Linked DNA regions of Homo sapiens: all the other regions are linked to region 3. Evidence: promoter capture Hi-C in 16 types of primary human blood cells and fetal thymus (Javierre and others, 2016). All regions are on one chromosome and are shown on one strand. Each heading gives the region's core, a stretch centred on a gene start or on the middle of the fragment in contact. The rest is flanking DNA. Distances are from core to core; before and after follow the strand shown.

The links. Contacts are between HindIII fragments. The CHiCAGO score rates a contact against its expected background, and 5 or more counts as called.
Region 1: a fragment that was not itself captured here is called in contact with the fragment with the promoter of TCHH in region 3 in 12 of 17 cell types (M0 macrophages, M2 macrophages, naive CD8 T cells and 9 more); the score reaches 10.3 in M0 macrophages.
Region 2: a contact is called between a fragment that was not itself captured here and the fragment with the promoter of TCHH in region 3, in 1 of 17 cell types (total CD4 T cells). The highest score is 5.8, in total CD4 T cells.

Annotation. Positions count from the first base shown.
Region 1 is chr1:152,454,583-152,458,950 of GRCh38, forward strand. No RefSeq gene overlaps it. Among named protein-coding and RNA genes, the nearest start is that of CRNN, 43 kb to the left of the region's middle. RefSeq lists an enhancer at 3,936-4,005. The HindIII fragment of the contact is 3,652 bases long and covers 1-3,518 here.
Region 2 is chr1:152,425,444-152,429,594 of GRCh38, forward strand. No RefSeq gene overlaps it. Among named protein-coding and RNA genes, the nearest start is that of CRNN, 13 kb to the left of the region's middle. The HindIII fragment of the contact is 5,033 bases long and covers 1-4,151 here.
Region 3 is chr1:152,113,545-152,117,712 of GRCh38, forward strand. TCHH (trichohyalin) reads right to left here and starts at 1,900. Exons shown (of 3, transcript NM_007113.4): 1 at 1,847-1,900; 2 at 399-567. The coding sequence starts at 536. The HindIII fragment of the contact is 15,075 bases long and covers 1,266-4,168 here.

The DNA of each region.
Region 1 (4,368 bases), core at 443-2,942, 340 kb after region 3:
TTGCCTGCTTGCTCTGGTTAGGACTTCCTCTCTTTATTATGTATTATATTTTCCTTCTTTTCATGCCTGGTAATTTTTTATGGATACCACACATTGTGAATTTTACCATTTGAATGGCTGGATATATTTTTGTTTCTATAAATAAGAAACAAAAGTTAAGTTACTTGGAAACAGTTTGGTCCTTCAAATTTTGCTTTTTAAGATATGATGGGTGGCACCAGAGCAGTGTTTAGTTTAGGACCAATTTTACTACACCACTGAGGCAAAACCTTTCTGAGTACTCTACCCAGTATCCAATAAATTATGATGTTTTCTACTCTAGCTGTTAGGAACAGGGGTTCTTCCTAACTCGGGGTGATCCTGGGATTATTCGCTTTCATTCCTGCAGGGAGGTCCATCCTCTGCCTCAGGTAGTTTCCTCACATACAGGTGCTGATCATAACTCAGCTAAGGATCTGAGGGGAGGCTGTTCCTGATTGTCAGGGCTCCCCTGCCCCCTTCTCTCTCTAGCTCTTGCCTTGCTAGGTGAAGGGGTGGCCTGCCCCTCCACACCTGTGGGTGTTTCTCGTCTGGTGGGACGAGAGACTGAGAAAAGAAAGAGACACAGAGACAAAGCATAGAGAAAGAAAAGTGGGCCCAGGGGACCGGGCGCTCAGTATACGGAGGACCCGCGCCGGCACTGGTCTCTGAGTTCCCTCAGTATTTATTGATCATTATCTCTACCATCTCAGAGAGGGGGATGTGGCAGGACAATAGGGTAATAGTGGGGAGAAGGTCAGCAGGAAAACATGTGACAAATGTCTCTGTGTCATAAACAAGGTTAAGAAAAAGGTGCTGTGCTTTGATGTGCCAATACATAAACATCTTGGTGCATTAAAGAGCAGTATTGCCACCAGCATGTCTCACCTCCAGCCATAAGGTGGTTTTCTCCTGTCTCAGTAGATGGAACATACAATTGGGTTTTACACCGAGACATTCCATTGCCCAGGGATGAGCAGGAGACAGATGCCTTCCTCAGAGTTATCTCAACTGCAAAGAGGCCTTCCTCTTTTACTAATCCTCCTCAGCACAGACCCTTTACGGGTGTTGGGCTGGGGGATGGTTAGGTCTTTCCCCTCCCATGAGGCCATATCCCAGGCTATCACTTGGGGAGAAACCTTGGACAATATGTGGCTTTCCTAGGCAGAGGTCCCTGCGGCCTTCCGCAGTGTATTGTGTCCCTGGGTACTTGAGATTAGAGAGTAGTGATGACTTTTAACAAGCATACTGCCTTCAAGCACTTGTTTAACAAAGCACATCCTGCATAGCCCTAAATCCATTAAACCTTGAGTTAACACATCACAGGTCTCTGCAAGCACAGGGTTGGGGCTAGGGTTACAGATTAACAGCATCTCAAGGCAGAAGAATTTTTCTTAGTACACAACAAAATGGAGTCTCTTATGTCTACTTCTTTCTACATAGACACAGTAACAGTCTGATCTCTCTTTCTTTTCCCCACAGCTAGGCTAGTAGTCTGTCTTGAAAACTCTAGCTGCCTTGGTCTTTTAGGATCCAGTTCCATTTATTCAATCCTGAGAGTCCACTGGACTCTGCCAGTTTCCGCTCCCTGAGTCACAGCCTGGAAACCCTTTGCCGGGAGGAGGCCAGGACAGTCCTAGGGTTCAGCTCATTTTGTTTCATCTTGCAAACATCATGGTCCTGCATTGCTTCAGGTTCATGGTCTTGAAAACTATTGTTCTTTTTATATAGCCATTCCTTGGTATTCACGAGGGATTTGTTCCAAGACCCTTGAAGATGCCAAAATCTGGAGATGCTCAAATCCCTCACGTAAAATGGCAAGATATTTGCATATAACCTATGCACATCCTCCTGTAGACATGAAAACATCTCTAGATTACTTATAATACCTAATATAATGTAAATGCTATGTAAATGGTTGTTATACTGTATTTTTAAATTGTATTTTTATTGTATTTTTTCAAATGTTTTTGATCCATGGTTGGTTGAATCCATGGATGTAGAAGTCAAGTATAAGGAAGGCCAACTATAGCTTGTCAGATTATGTAGTTGTTTCAGGTTACAGGATAAATCCATCCCTGTAACTCCATTCCCATTGGAAGAGGAAATTTCCACTTTATATTTTTGCTAGCATAATACCATTTTTTCTGGTATTTTTCAAAATCACAACCTAACATTGTAATTCTAAAGTATTTAGAGTTATACATCTGTTTAAAATTTCAAATTGGATGAACATGCAATCTCCCCACTAAGACAGGCATTTGCCTTTGTCTGGGTGAGGCTGACCATTGTCTTTTGTGTTTAGCAGTTCCTTATAATCCCTCCATAACCAGCCTGGGTCTCTCTCCACTTCCAGAAGCCTTGACAGACTGTTTTAGAACTGGAGAGATGAGGAGTGGGGGTGAGATGCTAAGAACACACAGGAGAGGGTATGGCAGGAAGGAGGACAAAAGGGCAGGAGTTCCTAGGGCCAAGTCCCACCACTCTTCACCCCCAGCCTGACCACCTCCCTCCCCTCCGGGGCACACATCTCTCTGCTCCTCTTTACAGAGCCTCTTTATTTAACATGTCATGTGGTTCTGGTATCACAGTCACTACTCTTGTTGTGTGGAAGGGCAGAATCTCAGGGGCCCAGGACAGAATAGAAGACTGTTGGTGAGGCAGGACTTAGTCCCTTAGGGAGTTACCAGGCCAGCCCTGCCCCATGCTGTGGCAATCACAGGAGTGTGTGATACAGAGTGCTTGGAGAATAGGACCAGACCACACTTGACAAAATGGTGCCTATGGGGGTGCAACAATAACATGGCATTTTAGGAAGAGGTGGACAGGACAATGAGTTGCTTTGGGGGCTTTGGTCTTGTACACCATGCCTAGGTTCTGAGAGGGCAACTGTACCTTGCAGAATGACTGCCATCTGCCAGGCACAGTGCTAGGCTTTTTACAACCATTACGCCAGTCATTCCTTATGTCAACCTTATGTGGTGTGCATTGTCCTTTTACATTTCACATCTGAAGACAATTAGACTCAAAGGGTTTCAGATAGTTACTCGATGGGACTGGCACTCCAGAGTCTGCGAGGGCAGAGAAGTTTGCTGGGAGACTGAGAGAGTGCTCATGGGATATTGTGGTATGGGAGGAGCTGGAGCCCTATGTTCTTGGCTGGACAAAGCCCTGTTGTGCTCATTTTGGAGATGGCAGGTGGGACCAATCCCATCACAGCAGCTGCCTCAGCAGGGAGATGCCCTGCAAGGGTGAGGTGTGGCCTAGGCAAGGTGTAGGAACTGGAAACTGAGGTAGGGCTGGAGGGGGGGAATATAACAAGAGTGAAAACAGTGCTTGAGGGCAAAAATGTGATGGGGAAAGTAAAAAAAAAGACCTGGAGTCTACACTGAAATTGAGTGGGGGTGAAGAAGTGAAATATTATTTTGGACCATATGAAATTGTTGTTTTGTAGGTAAAATGGTGGATTATGAACAATTTTATGTGTTCAACCTAATGTAAGCTTACTGTGGGTAAGCACCAAATATTAAGTATAGCCCATGGAATGCAGGGTGGTCTAAAGGTGAGTGGCACTGGATCTCAGCATTTGGAATGCCTACCTGTCCCCATATGTATCATCAGAAGGCACCTGTTAAAATATACACGTTACCTAGAAGTAGCAAATATTACCTAGCAACATCCTGGCACAACTGGCTTTATTAAACCAAGTTGTCACTTACTATGACAACAGCTATATAAAGTGACTGAAAAGAAAATTGGAATTTTGATTGAAAGATCATTTTGACTAGGTAGAGCCTGAGATAGGGGAGCTGCTTGGCAGACTGTGAGCAGCACTTGGCACAAGGTGGGGGGGTTTTGATAGAAGGCATTGAGAGAGAGGAAGCCGAGGTCTGGACCCAAAAGACTTGCTGACTGGCTGTGCCCATAAGCTTCCCTGCGCTGACTGCTGTCAGCCAACAATTAGGATTTCCGTGGTGCTCTGGCTCCCTCTTCAGGGAAACTCCTGAAATGCATCGCCATGTCTCAAGAAGATGGAGCTCCAGCGAAGTTTCAGAGATGGAAGACGGAACGGTAAGGGAACTAGTATTTCTCAAATTCACACTGTGTGTAGGCAGTCTGCTGAAAAGTGGCCACTAATATTGCCATGTATAGAAGTGTAAACTCAGATAATTTACGTGATTTGTCCAAGGTCATAACTCAATGGTGGTAGAGCTGGGATTCAACTTCAGGTTAGCCTGACTCCAAAAGACAAAGGTTGACCGTGGGCATCTCCAGGGAAGGGAGCAACTTCTATTGATTTTTGAATCCAGAGCAACTTCCATTGATTTCTGAAGCTCCAGAGTATAGTTG
Region 2 (4,151 bases), core at 872-3,371, 310 kb after region 3:
CAGGAGAATCAGCTGAACCCGGGAGGCAGAGGTTGCAATGAGCAGAGACTGTGCCATTGCACAAGAGTGAAACTCCGTCTCAAAAAAAAAAAAAAAAGACTGCGTGCCCACCATGGTGCTGAGGTGACTCCCGCACATGACACCTTTACTTCTCATACCCTGAAAAGTTCTTCTTCTTCTTCCCATATTTCACAGGCGGAACTTGAGTTTCAAAGAGGTGAAATGACATGTCCAAAGTCACACTGACAACTGTGCAGGGAGATAATGAGGTAAGAGGCAGGCAGGACTTGTCTCTGGACCAGACTGGAGACTGGCTAAAACAGAGAAGAGACACTGAGCATCTCCCATTGCTCTTGCTGCCCATCACCATGAGACACTCCCACCAGTGCCATGACAGTTTACCAATAGTGTGACAACACCTAGAAGTTAATACCCCCTTCCAGGGCAACACTGAGAGGTTACCACCCATTTTCTAGCTATTTCTGAATAACCCACCCCTTAATTAGCATGTCATTAAAAGTGGGTATAAATATGACTGCAACCCACACCCTGTTGCTACTCTGGGTGCACTGGCAATGGGGTAGCCCTCCACAGGAGCAGTCAGGGAGCTGTAACACTGTTGCCACCACAGTAAAGCTGCTTTCTTCCACCACTGGCTGACTTTGAATTTTTTCCTGAGTGAAGCCAAGAACTTGCCCTACATCAATGGAACTGGAGCTGTTTTTTTTTATTCCTGGCTCAGTGGGCTTCTTCCTATGCAAATTTGCCTCCATGGTGGATTTGGGGTAAGGTGGGGAGCATGAATGCCCATAAGCGGTAGGTAAAGTGTTTTTTTCAATGTGAGGGCCTCTTCCACAGCCCTCTCAGCAGGGCAGGAACGAGGACTTTGAGGACTATGGGCATGGGTTAGGGTGGCCCCACAGAAGGGCAAGACTTCAGAAGCAGCTCTCTGATGCAGGAGTGTGGTGCCCTGAAACACCATGTAGTATCACACATGATAGCCTATTTCAACCCTTTAGAAAGGGACTCGGAGCCTCCAAGAACTTAGAGCCTCCTTCTTTGCTTCTAAATTGTTATACTCTTGGCCTGTCCTTGGCCAGGTATGACTTTTGTTGTTGTTATTCCAATGGAAACTGAGGACTTTGCAGGCCAACTGAGCTCAGGATATAGTCTGGCTCCTCCCCTTATGAACTCAGTGACTTAGGACACATCCTTTAACTTCTCTGAGCTTTGGGGTCTTCTCTGAAAATGGAGGTTATATAATACCTTTTCCTTCATGTATTGTGTATAGATTAAATAAACTGGTGAATCTTGAAAGGTTTTCCTGGTGACTGATGACAGTAGGCTCTCAGTAGACAATAGATATATGATGCCAATCATGAAGATGGAGACAAGAGCAGTGATGGTAAAAGATAACCAGCTCTTCAGAGTTGGCTAAAAGTCCTTATACAAGAAGACTTGATATGGTTAGACAGAAAACCCAGAGGCTCCTATGACTCATGAGGGAGGTTTTGTAATGTAACATGGCTGAATAATAAAGTGTGTTTTCACCTATAAAAGATAAATCTACTTAAGTTTCAACATGAACTTCTCTGTTCAGTTGCAAAGTAGGAACAGAGTATTTGATGAAAATTCTGAAATTTTGACTGCAAATGGAAAGAACAGAAAAGTCTCTGCCACTTCTGTAAAAGCTATGGCACAAAGCTATGAATATTTGGGCATATGTTGACAACAGTTGACACAGAATCAGAATCACACAAGAAGCAAATCCAGAGAGGACCACACTTACATGATTTACCAATTCCCCAGTGAGGTGGGTGGGATTCATGTCAAACCCATAAACACTTTGTAAATTATTTTGAAATCTATTGTGAATACAATTTTTCTTAAGCTAATATTTCTATCAAATAATTTATACAATGGTGTGGGTTCTGTCACTTTTAATTATTTTTGCTGTCAGTTCCTAAGATCTAAATTGAAAGAAGCTCATCAGTTTTACTGTGGATGAAGTCCTAACTGGGGAAGGGTGTGCTCACTGCCTTCTAGATTCAGGTGCCCAGACTTGGCTCACAGGTCAGGTCTCTGCATCTGGCCTGGTTCTTGATCTCCCTGGATGTGCCACGCCCATCACTTGTGCTCAGATGGTCTCTCTTTGAACCCGTTGCTGCCTCACATGGAAAACCAAATACAGAACACTGCAAGGTATAAGGTGAAGTCCCTGAGGTGTGTCATCTGGGGAAGGGCCAGCTCTGCTCTGCCACAAGGGACGCATGTGTTTGTTTTGTTCATACTTGGAAGTATGTCTTTGTAACTTGGAAGTATGTCTTTGTAACTTGGAAGTATGTCTTGTATACTTCCAAGCACTAACAAGCCCCATATTGCTTTTTTTTTTTTAACATAATAATATATGTCCCTACAAGCTGTAGAGAGGATATAGGCACCGATAATTACAGGCTAGCTCATCATTGCCCCTGGGGCTCTAGATGAAGAGCACTGTGTTGGAGGTTGGAGACTATTCTCTCATTCTCACTGGCTTCTTCACATGGTCTGTCTACTACTCTGGCTTCTTCAGAGAAACAGAACCAATAGGATATACATAGATATATATGAAGAGAGAGACAGTGTTGAGAGTGTATTTGAAGGAATTTTAAGGAATTGGCTCATACAATTGTGGGAACTGGGAAGTCTGAAGTTTTCAGGACAGGCCGGCAGGCTGGAAATTCAAGCAAGAATTGATGTTTCAGTCTTGAGCCCAAAGGCAGAATGGAGGCAGAACTCCTTCCTCTTCAGGGAACCTCAGTCTTCTCTCAGAAGGCCTTTGACTGATTGGATGAGGCCCACCCACATTACAGAGGGTGACCTGATTTACTCAAACTCCACTGATTTAAATGTTAATCACATCTAAAAAATGTCTTCACAGAAACACTAGACTGATGTTTGACCAAAAACTGGGCATCATAGTCTAGCCAAGTTGACACATAAAATTAACCATCACAGTCTGGGTACTCATTTCATTAACATAGTCCTGGCTTTTTATAATTAGGGATTTCTCCCCTGATTTCTTAGCAAATTAACAGTCTTTTGATATATTGGTCTGGGCTTTTATTTCTTGTCTTTCTTCTCAAGAAGTCTGTTCCAATCTTCTTTATTTTTAATTTCACAATTTTCTTTTCTTATTAAAAGCACCACATGTACATGGAAGAAAATTGAGATATCAAAAGGAAAAATAAAAATGATTATAATACTGCCCTCTGGGAACAATCATTAGATTGTATATCTTTTCAGCCATTTTTCTATGTGCATAGATAAGCAATGACAATACTAACAATAGCTAACATGTATCAATTACTGCATTCCTGATATTAATTCATTCAATCCTCCCAGCATCAGTGAGGTGGATACCATCATTATTTAGGAGAGGGAAACAAGGCACATAGGGGTTAAGTGACTTGCTCAAGGCCACACAGCTAGTGAAGGTCAGAGTCAGACTCAACCACTCAGGTTCTCAACCACCGAGATTTTAAAAACTTCACTATAGTGCCCTTATATACACATATTTTTATATAATATTGGAATTATTCTGTATACAATATACAGTTTATTTTACCTAATTTTTTACATAGGGATGTGGTTTGGCTGTGTCCTCACCCAAGTCTCAACTCGAATTGTATCTCCCAGAATTCCCATGTGTTGTGGGAGAGAGACCCGGGGGAGGTAACTGAATCATGGGGGCTGGTCTTTCCTGTGCTATTCTTGTGATAGTGAATAAGTCTCACAAGATCTGATGGGTTTATCAGGGGTTTCTGCTTTTGCTTCTTCCTCATTTTTCTCTTGCTGTCACCATGTAAGAAGTGCCTTTCAACTCCCGCCATGATTCTGAGGCCTCCCCAGCCATGTGGAACTTTTCAGGTATGTCTTTATCAGCAGCGTGAAAATGGACTAATTCACATAGTAAAAGAAAATTAGGTTTTTAAAGATTATTAAATAGTCTTCAACTTTTCAACATCATTTGTAGTGGTAGTAAAGAATTCTACTGAATGGAGGTGCCATTGCATATTTAATTATTCCACTTTTTAGTTTCTTAGCCTGGTTTTTTTTTTCCTTTTATAAAACACACAACATGAGGCCAGGTGCAGTAGCTCACACCTATA
Region 3 (4,168 bases), core at 650-3,149:
AGCAGCCAGTATTCTTGATTTGGTTTCTATTCCATATTAGAAAACAGAACAAAACATTTACGGGTAGCACCATTTTAATAGAGATCAGGCTGATCTCAGTTTTGAAATTTGGAAACAAATTTAAGTTCCTCCAAGTCTAGTGTGATTTGACATCTTTTGTGGTAATGTCCCATGAAGAGCTCATTCACATGGCCATGCCATCAAGTACATGAAATACTTTATTATTCAGACTACAATGTCAAGTAAGTACCTTTTGACTCAGAAATGAATGGGGGATGTAGTGTAGACCTGTTGTGGTGTAAAATGAATATAAAACCACCATTCCTTGCTCTGGTCTCCTCTGAGAATAAATCTCATAGCCTCAAGTCAATAGATCTCATTTTCTTGTTAGTTCTTACCCGAAGCACAGCTCCAAATTCCCTTTCAAGGAGGTTCTTCAGGTCTTTCTTAGTTAATGCTGCTCCATCACAATCATGAGAGACATACTGATTGAAAATTTCAGTGATGTCACAGATGCTTCTCAGAAGTGGAGACATTTTTTTTTCTTTCCTTCAAGTTCAAGTAAACCTAGAACAATAAAATAAGATCCAGAATCAAAATCCCGTTTCTGCTTTTGGGAAGGCTTCATTCACACTATTTCAGGCAGATCCCTAAATAATTTGAATTTATAGCGGTAATTTCAACCTGGACTTTCAGAGCACTTTAATATTTGAATATTGTATCAGAAAGAGAAAGAGCGATCCTGAGAAATTCCAAGCCAGGGAATCATCTTCAGACTATCCTGTTGTCAGCTTTTGATTGTCCACCCAATGTGGATTATCTATGCCCTTTTCTTCTGTCTTTCTTCCAGCTCTCCACCGTATTTCAGAGTAGAAAATTAAGAGAAGAGTGCAGAAATTAAAATTTTATATATGTCTACACACCTTCCTTTAAAGTTGAGCGAAGAGGACAGGTAAAAGCCAAAAGGTGAAGGAAGACTTGAGAGTATCTTAAAGTGGATAGAGGCCATGTCAGCAAAACAGTTGGTAGAAAATAGAACAATGAAAAGGGAATATGAATGATTCCTCAACATTACAGTCCATAAAGGATTTAGGAACTCTTATAGAATATAATTTGTAAGTCAGCAATTCTAAGATTAAATAGTACTTCTTCCTAGTCAAAAGATGGCATTGTAACATTCAGATACACAAATGCAGAAAACAGAGACTGTATATTACCTGCCTCAACTCAGATATAGTAAGATATTCGGATATTGAAGTATTGAAAGCTTCTGAGAGGTCCTTTCTAAACCAAACGGAATCCAGAAAACTGTGAATGATATTGGTTTTGTTAAACCCAAATGCATCATTGGAATCTTGGCTTTTTATAAAACATTAGCCAGCAGTAGATCAATGTTATAAGAATACATGGAATGGCTTTGCTGGTGGGATAAGTGTAGTCGTTCATCTAGCTGACTTCTTTATGTACTTCTCAACTCCAGTACCTTAAATGCTGTGACTGTATGAAGATGGCCCATATTAGGTAGAACCAATGTAAAAGAGAACAGAAGGCTGGCAAACTTTTGAGATAGCAGTTTTTAGGAAGATGAACCCTATCAGAGCCACACATGATCATCCTTGATGTGCAGAAGTATAGAGTTCAGAGCCCAAGGAGAAGGGTCATGCTTCAGTTCAAGTGATGGCTCCAACCATAAGAAGATGGGATAGAGTTAGTGATAGTTTATTTATCCCTGCAAAATACTGATACCTTCTGGCACATGGAACCTCCCCCCATATCCCAACATCTGAAATAGCTATAAAAATGGAGAATCATAAAGAAGACCACGATCCCACAGAATGGGACTTACCCACTTCACCAGAGGAAGAAGTCGACAGTGCTTGCTGACACCACAGGCAAGTGTACTGGGTAACTGGGAGCTGGGCCTTTTATAGGGGTTTTAATTGTGCCCTGGAAAGCAACTTGGGAAGGAGACACCCACTCTGTGGGATGGCCTGATTCATTCCTAACCAAGCCCAGCTCCACCTCTGTCTCCACAAATGGCTTGTTTATCTCACTATTTGCTCACGTAGCTATTTGGCACGAGGTTCACAGACCTTGCCTCCTGACAGTCAGGGTACCAGCCCCACCTAACATGGGAGGGTAGAATATTTGGCAGAATCTCCAATTTTCTTAAATTGTTAAAAGTAAATTAAATAATAAAACAAAGGTATTAAATGTTCACAATCTTAATTGATTATTACTTCATTACAAAGGAGTAAACTCTAAGCCATTTGCTTTATAAAAGATACAATCTCTAGTTTGGGATTAAGCAGAAACTTTGAAATAAAGTGATGAAAACCAATTAATTTCTCCATGGGATGTGACAGTCCATGGTGAGCTGCTCATAAGCCCTGCCAGAAGCAGTTGCTTCAATTCTAGGGCAATGAGAGAGCTGTAAAGAATTGGTTAGTTTCTTCTCTAAAAATGCAGGTGGGAAAAATTTTTACATTTGTCTCCCGGGTCTTATGATGGTTTTCCTACAGATTGGGGACTGCCTCCTCAGTAAAGTTTGGAAGGGTACCTTGGAAATATATTTTTATTAAACCGTTCATAAGAAAACTTGAAATCTGTGAAATTTCATTCTTAGAGACATTAAACCTAAATGAAGTTTGTTCATTAGTTTTCTCATTAGCATATTGATGCCCCTGGGGAAAAAGAGCTGGTGTAATGTATTATTGTAGATATAATCATCCTGCTCAGCCTAAGTTACTAATGATTATGACACCTAAACACTTGAGTCTGCTTCTCCTGGAAGTACATTGAGGTAATTGGTCATTCTAGCCCATTATATCCATCAGGGCTTTCTCAATCTGGTTGATCATTTGCAAATTTCAGTGCTGTTTTATTGTAAGGAATTGGATTTTATCCATGGTTGTCAGTGACTTCCTTCCTTACATTTCAGACTATATGAAACTTTGGTTCATAATTTATGAAGACTATTAAATGATTCAATGGCTTCTCTGCACTTTTGTCTCCTCCTTTGTCCAACAGAGGCAAGTGTTGGTTTTCTGAATTTTGAGGCAACTGAACGTCCTTCAATGGCATGAGTGAAAATTTGGAATCTAAATCTTGATGGCTATTTCTTTATGTGCAGATTGGTCTAAATGATAATGGAGTTGAACTCTATTTGCCCCCTCACTTGCTGCCATCCTAGATGTGGGGTACAGAGGAAGGTAGAAGTGACAGGGAATGGGAAGACAATTATAAGCAATGCTAATTTCTGCCTCTTAAGGACTTCAACACTGAAGTCTACAATTTAGTGGTTTTCCTAGGACTGTCAGAACTGTCACTATTTCTTGGGCTCAGTTAACAAACTTGATGTGGCAATTCCTTGGTGAAGGGTGAAGACTTCTCATTTTTCCCCTTCTTTTTAGGGTTTTATGCAGCTCTCTTACTCTTTGGATTCTGAGATAGGACCATCATAAGCACTGACCACACTGCAATCATGTGATCATGGAAGCTCACTCTCTCACAGAGGGCACTAGCCTTTTGTATGAGTGTTCTTCAAGGAATAACCTGGGCAAGGACTGCCTTATGTCTGCTTTTGTTTGTATCCTCCTGTGTGTGATCTATTGGGAAACCTCAGTTCAGGTGATGGGATGCATTTACATGACTCCATTACTTTCCTATAGTGAATAAACCCTAAAGGGAACTGGAAATTTTTAGGTTCCATGAAAATAAAGGGAAAAGTAGCATTAACCATTCTAAAATTATAGTTAGAATGGCAATTCCCCCCATCACCATGCTTTTGAACAGCCTTGAAAAAATACCCCAAATTGCATTTATTATAACAGAAAAACCCTTTCTCCTCTCTGAATGAAGCTAGATCTTAAATTCAGTGATGGTTCTCCTACCCACTTTTATTTAAAGTCAGTTCAGTATAAGGGAAAATATTTAAAAACCTGCATAAACCTAAGAGAATTGGCCTCCCTTCCTGCTCTTGGTCCATCATCAGAAAGATTGTAAAGTAGATTCATATGCTAAATCCAAAATCAAGTTTGAAATTCTCCTGGTGAAGTAGCTTCATTGCTACATAATGTTCTTTTATTTTACACACTGTCATTATTTGAGAATATCATTTTAAAAGGAGTCTGTGACATAAGGTTTGGACAGGGAAATAGTTTCCATA